Regions from separate parts of the Homo sapiens genome. Here region 1 is linked to region 2. Evidence: promoter capture Hi-C in 16 types of primary human blood cells and fetal thymus (Javierre and others, 2016). All regions are on one chromosome and are shown on one strand. The core of a region is centred on a gene start or on the middle of the fragment in contact, and the rest is flanking DNA. Distances in the headings are between cores, read along the strand shown. Region 1 overlaps MIR3663HG (MIR3663 host gene). Region 2 holds the start of SPMIP5 (sperm microtubule inner protein 5).

Region 1 (4,740 bases), core at 1,438-3,937, 490 kb after region 2:
CTCGAGCATGACAGTAAGTCGGCTGGGCTCTAGGAACAAAATGTGTAAGCACAACACTCACAGAGTGGATATTCTTTCAAGTGATAGAGACAGGGTTGGGAAGGACTCTAGAGTTAGAGCCTTCCATGGGCAGTGCTGTTTATTGTATACACAAATAATAGTGACAATCGCTAATATTGACTGTGGAATGCTTTACATGCACCTTGTCATTCACACTTTCTTACAAATAATGGGGCACTATTCCTTTTATTTCTTCTACTCTTAGAAATAACAGAAGCTCAGAGTGGTTAGTAACTTGCTCTATCACCTAGAGAGCAAATGGGGGAGCCAGGCTTCAAATGTGGGTGTGTCTGCCTCCTGATCCCCAACTCTTAAGCATTTTGCCATTTCATCTTTCACCAAGGCTCTCCTGCTCTCCAGCATGATCTGGGCTCTGAACTGTTTCTCCACTAGCCATCTGAGGATAGGTTTCCACCAATTCAGCCACCGAGCTGCTGGAGACGGGGGTTATTAGATTACCATCTCAGAGCAAAACAAAATCAGTATAAAATCTTAGCCTCATTAGCATGGGACTCAGTCTCCTCAGGTAGCCAGTCTTGGCCATTGATTTTTTATTATATGCAGCAGTTACATTTCAGTTTCTCAAGTTACTCATAGCTACATATGAGTAATAAAATGATAGCAACAACTGGAGTGATGCTAACCATTAGTTTGCCTTGAGTCCAAGGACAAAACAAAGTCTTAAGTGTCCTACTCACTCCTTAGCTCCAAAGTAAACAAGTCTTTCTGCTACTAGTACTGGATTAAGCTTCATAACATTGTCCAGGTGAAAGTACTTAGGGCTGGAGGCCTGTGTAGATGCTTGTAAAGAGGGAGATGCTTTGGCAGATTAAACCCATTCTGTGGGCTTGTTCTATTTTCTGGAAAATCTCAAGTATGACAAAATAGCTCCAACGAGTTATTGTTCATCAACATCTGTCATAAATGTTAGAAATCTTGGCATCATTTATCTCTATCTCAATCTCATCTCTATCTACATTTATAATTTACTTATGTATTTAAAAAGAAATAGAAAAAAACACCCTGGTCTAATGGAAAACATCTCAGCTCTAGTGGTTCCCAACCTTTTGGGGTTTGAGAATCAACAACACAATGTTATGAAACCTTTTGGGGTTTGCTATTCAATAACAAAACAAAAAAAGATAAAACAACTATAAATAAATCCTATCTGGCTGATTTAAATTATAGAGCTCATGCAGCTTGAGCAAACCCTCTTCCCTTAGCCATGGTGTGATTCCTCTTGATTGAGAATCGAGTTTCTAGGCTACTTCTCAGAGAATGAAATTACAAAACACAAGATAGCAGATTTTTAAAAAATTGTCACCAGGTATCCCTGCTGGATATCAAGTGACTGGGTCAGAAACTCAGTTGGAAACTCTGCTTAAAGAAGAGCGGAACAAATCCCCCTTGCCTGGGAGGCCAAACAGAGCATTGTTTTAGTTCCGTAGGAGATAATGACAATGGAATAAAACATTGTCCCGGGTAATGGTCTCCCGCTGGTAGGGAAATGCGTAGGCAAAAACAAACAAGGGGCTGAACTGCTACCTTCTTTTTAAAGCAAAAACTGTTGATCCTGGAACTGAGTACCTCCTAGCAGCTTCCATTTGGTTATATTAAGTCTTACATTTGGAGGTGCTCTGGGCTGGGGTGTCGCTGGGTAAATAGGGGGCAGGGTACAGATGTTAAGAGAGCCGCTAGCTCTACTGCTTCTGAACTGCTGGCTTCAGAGATAGGCTTAGGGGACCATTTTGAATTTCATCAGCCACTGGACAAAACAGGCTTTCCATAAAAACACAATCACCACTTCATGCTTTGCTGCCAGCTGAGATCTCCCTGCTGCCATATTCCACCCTCATGCCACCCATTTTATGACTGCCGATTAGACTGATATATATTGTATTGGTAAAGTTCTGCATTTCTTGAAAAGAAAACCTTTATAAAATAAAGAAGAATGAAGCCAATAATCCATTCATTTGACACAGAAAGTCAGCACTTTCCGATCTTTCTCCTTTTTTCCCTTGCAAGATAATATAATATGTAGAGACTGTCTAATGTGTCTCTCAAAACAAGATTTAAATCAGAGATCAAAAGTGGGTAGTGATTTAAAATTCTAAATTTTGGAAAAATAGCAACTATCCTTTCATTTTTGAAACAAAAATAAATGAAAATTCAGGGCCAAAGTCGTCCTTCTGCCAACTGGAGCTTCTGTAGAACACACAGCTCAGACTCTACCACACAGATGGAAAATAGTCCGAATGCATGCTGGCAGTATTCTTTCATTCCACGAACTTCTACAGTTTCCTTTAAAGCAGCATGGCATTCAAAAGTTGAGGTCCAATTCATCTTTGCTGTTAATGAGGCATTTTACAAGTGTATTTTTTTTTCTTGGGAAAAAATTTTGAATTGGGTAAAACAAATGGCAAGTGGATATTTAAAAACAAAAACAAAAACAAAAACAAAAACAAAAAACACCTCCTTACTTGGACTGGTGATTGACTTGCTTAGAATTCTCTGGGCCAGCATTTCATTTCCTGATGGCTGCCATTTCCCCTCCCATTCCAAGTTCTCTCTACTTGGGGCTGACACAGGACGTGGAAATACTAATATGGCTGCTGGGACTCCTTTCGTGTATTTCAGCAAGAGAATTATTTCGTATCAGTGCTCAGTGTCTCTCCAACTTTTCCATTTCCTCTAAGGTCAGGTTTCCCTACAAAGAAGAACGCCATATCGATTGTTAGTAACAGGAACTAAGCATTTGGGGGCCAGACACACAACTTTTCTGTTTCATGGTGTCACTGGCAGAAGAGGATCCTGGCCTGAATACACATTGGAAAGAGGCAATTTATATTTTTATTACAGTCATTAATCTGATATTTCTAATTTAAAAACATTCATTTGGAAAAAACTCAATGATGAGACAAAACAGTGTTTTTGCCCTGTTACCTGTATGTAATTATCTCAGTTTTCTCCCTCACCTTTGTGGCTTGATGAGGATTCCCTGGTTAAACGCAACTCCAGTACGTAATAAAGGGCATCAGTTACTTTTGAAGGTGCTTTGGCAATGTGGTCACTAATGTAAGTAACCATCACAGAAACCTCAAGTCGAGAGAATAAATGGGAGAATAATAAGCAGAGAGAACTAGCATAGGGAAAAAGTTAAGGGGGGGAGGTAAAAATTTGGTGGAAACAGAAAAACTCTTTAATGTGGATGCTAAGGAACAAGATCAAAGTATAAGAATTTGGATTAGGCAGGATCAGTTCAAGTTGTTAATAAAAATATGTGGGAAGAAACGAAAGCAAACAGTTCTCGGATCAGTCTCCAGGTATTCAGGGCTGGCCAAACACAACGAGAAGTGGAAAAGGGGTGATAATTAGTAACAAATATGAAGGTGTGTAGACACTTTGGGCAATTCCGATCTTAACGCCTCCTCTTCCTCAATATCACAGTGCTTCATGCAAAACAAGGGACTGCTTAGAATTCTGTCTTCAGCCTTCATGAATCTGGTCAGGAGTTTCTGCATCTTCCTTACCTTGTCAGCATGCTCAAAATATTTAATGCGATGACCTCTCACTCAGTAGGCATGGGATGCCTAAACCTGTATCATTTCAGCCTTTGCCCTAAAGCAGAGTTCTTCAGTAATGCAAAATTTCCTATATGAGAACTTCTGCTTCAACAACAGTAAGGTCCCAGGCACACAAGGAAATGCCCAATGCAAAGAATCTGGCAGGAAAATGAATGGTTGTGAAGATTGGGCTCCAACTCCTTTTAAAAAAGAGTTCCAGGAACATGTTTACTGTGTAATTTTGCCATGAGAAAGTTCATGGGAACCATTTTCAAGTCTCAGGAAAGTCTATTTGGTAAGGTAGGAAGTTTGCAAGTTCAGAGACTATTTTTTTTTAAAGAAACAAATTTCAATCACTTTAATAAACACTTTAAAAGCAATTTATGATAACTGTAGCCTTCCAATGACTAGGGCTACACTGAACTTTCCAAGCCGAAACATTCATCCTTGTATTCAGGAAAAGTCCTCTCAACAATTTGGAAAAATATTAAAAATATGAAAGCAATTGAAAAATCACTTTCACCTGTGCAATATCCTTCTTTCATGAATGTCTCCAATTACATAGCTAGGGTTACAGATTTTCACAAACACAGTTTCATTTTTGATAGTTATGTAGCTGTAATTTCAGGCCATTTCACTCTATTGAAAGGTACGGGGGCTGCCTTTGCCCTCTCTTCCTCCTGTCGCTTAAACCATCCAAGAAAACATCAAGAAATTAAATAAGAAGGGAAAACAAGAGGTAGAGATCGTATTCAAAAGACTGGAGTCCACCACATGAGAAGAATCAAGTTTGTAACCGCTGGGGTTACCTCCCTGCTCTGTCTTCCATCTGGGCAATGGGCTAACATCCCCGGGCTGGGGGTGTCTGAGGAGGATGAAGACATCCTCAGCGCTGCAGAGGTGCTAAGAAAACAGCCAGCTGTCTCCTGACTTAGAATTTTTGAAAGCTTTCGGGCCTCTCTGAGAAAGCCGTTCCAAATCCACCCCGTATCAATTTGCCTTCTAGAAGCGGCAGGATAAGCACACGGGTTTGGGCAGTGCTCACATTTTGGGTTTATTGGCTTGATGGGGTTGTTTGGGGCGCTCTCAGTTACAAACTGCAGAAGAGTGGGGGCGG
Region 2 (4,846 bases), core at 2,061-4,560:
AATTACTAAACTAATCTTGACAGTGTTGGAAGCCTTCCATGCATCGCCCAGACTCCCCAACCCTTGGATGATTAAAAGATATCCTAACATTATGAAGACCCTAGGGGCTTTGCCACAGTGGTTTCCCTGCCATCAGGGCCGACTTTGGTCTGCCTAGGTTTTATATTAGTGCATATATGCACAGACATAAGCATACGAACTACCTTTATCGAGTCTCGCTAAGGACCAAGACATTTAAAATAGGTTATGTATGCTGGCTCCTTTAATCCTCACAACAATCTTATGGTATCCCATGTAGTGGGTTGAACTGTATCCTCCAAATAGATATATGCAAGTCCTAACCCCTGGTACCTGTGAATGTGCATTTATCTACAAATAGGGACTTCTCAGATGTAATTAAGTTAAGGGCCTAAAAATGAGATCATCCCGGATTTAGGGTGGGTCCTAAATCTGATGACTGATGTCCTTATAGAGGAAAGAAGAGAGAGACTTGTGACACAGAGACAAAGGGGGAAATGCCGTGTGAGGATGAAGAGAGTGACTGGAGAGATGCTGCCACAAGCCAAGAACACTGGGGCCACCAGAAGCTGGAAGAAGCAAAGGTGGGATCCTTCCCTAGCGCCTTCAGAAAGAGCATGGCCCTGCGGGCACCTCGATTTCAGACGTCTGGCCTCAGAACTGTGAGGGAATGCATTTCCATCACTTTAAACCACATAGTTTGTGGTAATTTGTTGCAGTGGTCCTAGAAAACAAATACATCCATTTTATAGAATGTTGTACTTACCACAGAGAGGCAAGTTACTTACAGTCTCATCGACAGTGACCAAACAGAGATTCGAACCTCAGCTTGTCAGAACCCAAAGCCTATTCTCAACCAGCCATTAGGACCAGAGTGAGGTTGGGCAACCCTGGAATATCACCCAAGTACTATTCCTCCTGAGAACGGCTGTATGGGAGAGCCAAGGGTCTGTGGGGACCACTGGGTTTGTCACCCACAGGGATATGACTTAGTAAGTTCTCAGTAGCCCAGAAGCCTGAGGAGGAATAGCCTCTAGGTAGGGCAACCAATCGTCCTGGTTTGCCAAGGACTGAGGAGTTTCCCAAATGCAAGATTTTCAGTGTTAAGGAAAGTCCCAGGCAGTCCCAGGACAAAGGCAGTCCCAGGTAGACCAGGGCAGTTGGCCAGCCTTCCTTTAGGGGATGCAGGAAAGGATGGGAGCACAAGAATAACCTTTGTGGAGGACTTGAGAAAACCAACTTGGGGAGAACAGGGCCTCTACTTATTCATGTGTCTATCCTCATCACATTGTGTCTATCCTCATCACATTGTGTCTATCCTGGTCCAAATTCATTCAACAGGCATTAAGTGCTTCCTCTGCATACCAGGCCATGTTCTGGGACGTGTGGTCTAAGTTCTGCCCCTCAGAACCCGGCCATCAGCCATCTTCAGCGATGGAATGCTCTCAATGCATGTCTGAGAAGCTAGAGCGCCTAGACTGGTCCAGTTGGCTGCACAGACACAGACAGTGGGTCAAGGCAGGGACAGTGACCAGGACCCGGGTTCCCCTGCCAGGCACAGCTGCAGGGTACGTCCACACTTACCGCTATAGCCTGGTGTGATTGGCAGGTTTCTCATGAAGGTCTTGGAAGGCTCCATGATTTCGCTCTCTGTTAGTGGAGGGAAGAGGGAATGAAACGGTCTCATCAAAAGTCACTGCCTTAAGGAATTACTATTGAGTGTGCACAAGCTCTTGGGAGTGGAAGAATGACTGCCAGGAGTTGGGGCTGAGAGGCAGCACTACCACCTTACCCAAAGCCAGAGACACAGCTGGCTTCAGTCACAAACCAATGACCTATTACCAAGGGCCCATCACCTTTTATGTTAACTTGGATAACAGTGTGTAGATCACACCTACCAGGGTCTCCTCTCCCCTCCATCCGACCTCCAGCCATCCAACAATTGTGAACTGTACTCATACTATGGCTGTGAAACATGATAGAGGCTGGGAATGCAAAGCTTCTGAGCAAGCCCAGAAGCCCCTGTGTTAGGTTCATGAGCCTCAGGTGAGGAGAGAGATGAGGCCCGCACACCCCCAGACCTCCTTCTTGATCCAGGTGAAATCAGGTTGCAGTGGTGATTTTTGCCAGCCCCCACCATTACCCCTGGAACATCTGGCAATGTCCAGAGGCATATTTGGCTGTCAGAAGTGGGGGATGGGATGCTACTGAACATCCTGCAATGCTCAGAAGCCTCCCCCCACCCGCCGGCACACACATGCACACACACACACACACACACACACACACACACACACAAACAAGGGAGAAGAAATTCTGGCTTGAAGGAATCAGGAAGTCCCAAAAGGCAGACATGGAGTCCAAGGAGGGTAAGCAGAGGCCACCCTCTGCTTCAGGGGGCTCCACTGAAACATCAGTTTATGTGGATGCTGTTTCTGCAATAAGACACCTTCCCTCTTTGGGTATCGCTGGTCATTCCCCCCAAGTGGGCTGAGGCCTTGCCAAGTCCTGCCCTGCTGAGCCAGTTCATCTCTTTAAAGAAATGCCTTTGAGGCTGGAAGAAGAGGATTCAGGGTGGAGGAGAGGGCCACAGTCATGGCTTAGTCAGCAATGATGGGGATTGTTAAGACAGTTCAGCCCCCGCCAGGCTGACAGCAGTGAGGACTGTGCCGCGTCTAGGCCACTCTAACCCCTGGCATCACGTACCTGACTCCTGGGAGGAAGCACTGGGCCTGGAGTCAGACAGACCTGGCTGTGAGACCATGTCCCACCCATACTGACCACCTGCTTACTTTTCTGAAAGCTTTCCACGCTTGTTTAATCCTCTCAACAGCCCCATGATATAAATGCTATATTATACCCATTCCCCAATTTAAAAAGGCAACAGACAGGGAACACTGGCTATCCCCATGTGGTTGCAGCAGAACCGCATTCTCCTTTAATCCCCACAGCTTCCCTAAGAATGAGTTCCTGTTGGAACCCCCATTTTATAAATGTGAAAAATAAGGCACAGAGAGGTTAGGTAACTGGTTTCAGGGTTCCAGAGTGAAAGGGGGTGCGAACAGATGACCTCTAAACTCTCAGGGACAGGATATGTTGCCCAAAAGCATCAGCTGGGGTATAAGCCTGCCTGGAGGAGGTGGGCAGGGAGGAGGGTGGGAAGAAAGGCGGTGTCCTGAGAAAGGGGGCTAGGAGTGGGTAGAAAGTAGGGCCCCTCCTAGCCACCCTCTTCCAATCCCACCTCAGCGCTCACCTGGGCGGGGCTGGCGCTATCCGGTGCCCACTTGGCCTCTGCCCGGCCGCCCAGGATCCCTGCCTTCCACCAGGCCTTTGTGCGCTCACCCGGTGGAGCACAAAGGCCCCACCACCGCCAGCCTGCCCCTCCCCCACCCTTCCCGCGGTCCCACCTGGAAGGTGGGCGCTTCCCCCAGCGCCCGGCACAGCCCGGACCCCGGTGTAAAGTCGGGCATCTGCGCAGTAAACATCTGGCCTCGGAGCTGTCCTCCGCGCCTTGGCTGCCCCAGCCAGGGGAAGGATATGCGGAGGGCTCTAAGTCAAAGCGGGCGTTTTTGCGGGTGTAGACACTGCGGCGCCTGGGTCTGCAGGTCTGGCCGGGGAAGCGGGTGGGCGGGAACAGGGGGCGGGGCCGGCAGTGGGCGGGAGGAGGCGAGGCCTGGGGGCCCTGGCGCCTCCAATACAGGAGCTTCCTGGGCCTGGCAGCCCCTCCCTCCCTGTCTCCTGTTAGGAGGGGCAGATTTTCAGGTGGCCGGGACAGGTGAAGGCAGAGAGGAGTGGCTGTCCACCTGGGGAAGGTGAGTCATCCTTCTTTCTAATCACTCTTGGAGGGACACCCAGACTTCCTCTCATTGAATTGAAACCCACCAAGATGTCCGCCCTATGAACCAGCATGTGCTGGCTGCTCCCTTTACAGAAAATGACGCTGAAGCTGCGCTACTTCCAGGACACGCTTGTTTGCTGCACCTCCCGGCCTTCCCTACCTCTACTTTTCTGAAAATTGAACTGCAAATGAAGGCTGGTGGAGCCGACCACCATTTATACCTCTCTTTTATCACCCCATTTAGAACATACCTCGGGCCATCAGGAAGCTTTCAGAGCCAACTGTGGAGGGCGACTCAGGTGTAGGCTCTGGACACAGCCAGTTTCACGTGACGGCTGGGATGCCCAGGGGCAAGAGCCCAGCCAGGCCTTCTGCATGTTTTAATGACTTACACTGGGGTGCAGTGGCATTGGCAGTGGTCACTCTGCTTACCTGCCCTCCCTCTGGCTAGACCACTTTCTTCCAGAGAAAAGGGGCTCTGTGCCCATCGATGGGGCCTTGGTTCCCAGCAAACAAAGGGCCTAGTCTTGTTAGAATAACTTAAGAAAACTTACAGCACCTGGAAAAAACTGAAACTCTCTCTCCACCACCTGAGATGGGGTAGAGAGGGAGATCAGTACTGACGTGTCCATCATGCAGTTTGCAAACCCAGGATGGGGGGAAAAAAAATCTGGGCCACATGAGATTCAGAGTTTTGCTTTATTAGGCGTCTGTGAAGACAAGAGAGTTTGCAGACACAGTCCCGTCTGGTGGTGAACTGCTGCAAAGTTCTGTGAAGTTTGAATTTATCTTGTAGTGAATGAGACCCCAGTAGCTGATATTTTAGAATACTGGTCCATATTTCAAGCAGATGAGAGGTGTGGCATTATGGCCAACAACTTTTATATTAGCCATCCACTCAAGCCGTTTCCCAGCATACATATGCAGCTTAATCACAGCTATACATCTCTACAATGTGAAATTCGATCTTTGACTAATAATGCATTCTGA

Evidence for each region. Contacts are between HindIII fragments. The CHiCAGO score rates a contact against its expected background, and 5 or more counts as called.
Region 1: a contact is called between a fragment that was not itself captured here and the fragment with the promoter of SPMIP5 in region 2, in 4 of 17 cell types (naive CD4 T cells, naive CD8 T cells, non-activated CD4 T cells and 1 more). The highest score is 9.6, in naive CD4 T cells.

Annotation. Positions count from the first base shown.
Region 1 is chr10:117,158,074-117,162,813 of GRCh38, forward strand. It overlaps MIR3663HG (MIR3663 host gene), which reads right to left. Exons shown (of 3, transcript NR_121651.1): 2 at 2,541-2,767. Among named protein-coding and RNA genes, the nearest start is that of MIR3663, 7.3 kb to the right of the region's middle. RefSeq lists an enhancer at 1,287-2,043. The HindIII fragment of the contact is 3,762 bases long and covers 807-4,568 here.
Region 2 is chr10:116,666,656-116,671,501 of GRCh38, forward strand. SPMIP5 (sperm microtubule inner protein 5) reads right to left here and starts at 3,311. Exons shown (of 6, transcript NM_001350931.2): 1 at 3,272-3,311; 2 at 1,603-1,668. The coding sequence starts at 1,657. HSPA12A (heat shock protein family A (Hsp70) member 12A) reads right to left here. Exons shown (of 12, transcript NM_025015.3): 12 at 4,537-4,846. HSPA12A-AS1 (HSPA12A antisense RNA 1) reads left to right here and starts at 3,400. Exons shown (of 3, transcript NR_187551.1): 1 at 3,400-3,623; 2 at 3,739-3,830. The HindIII fragment of the contact is 1,303 bases long and covers 2,820-4,122 here.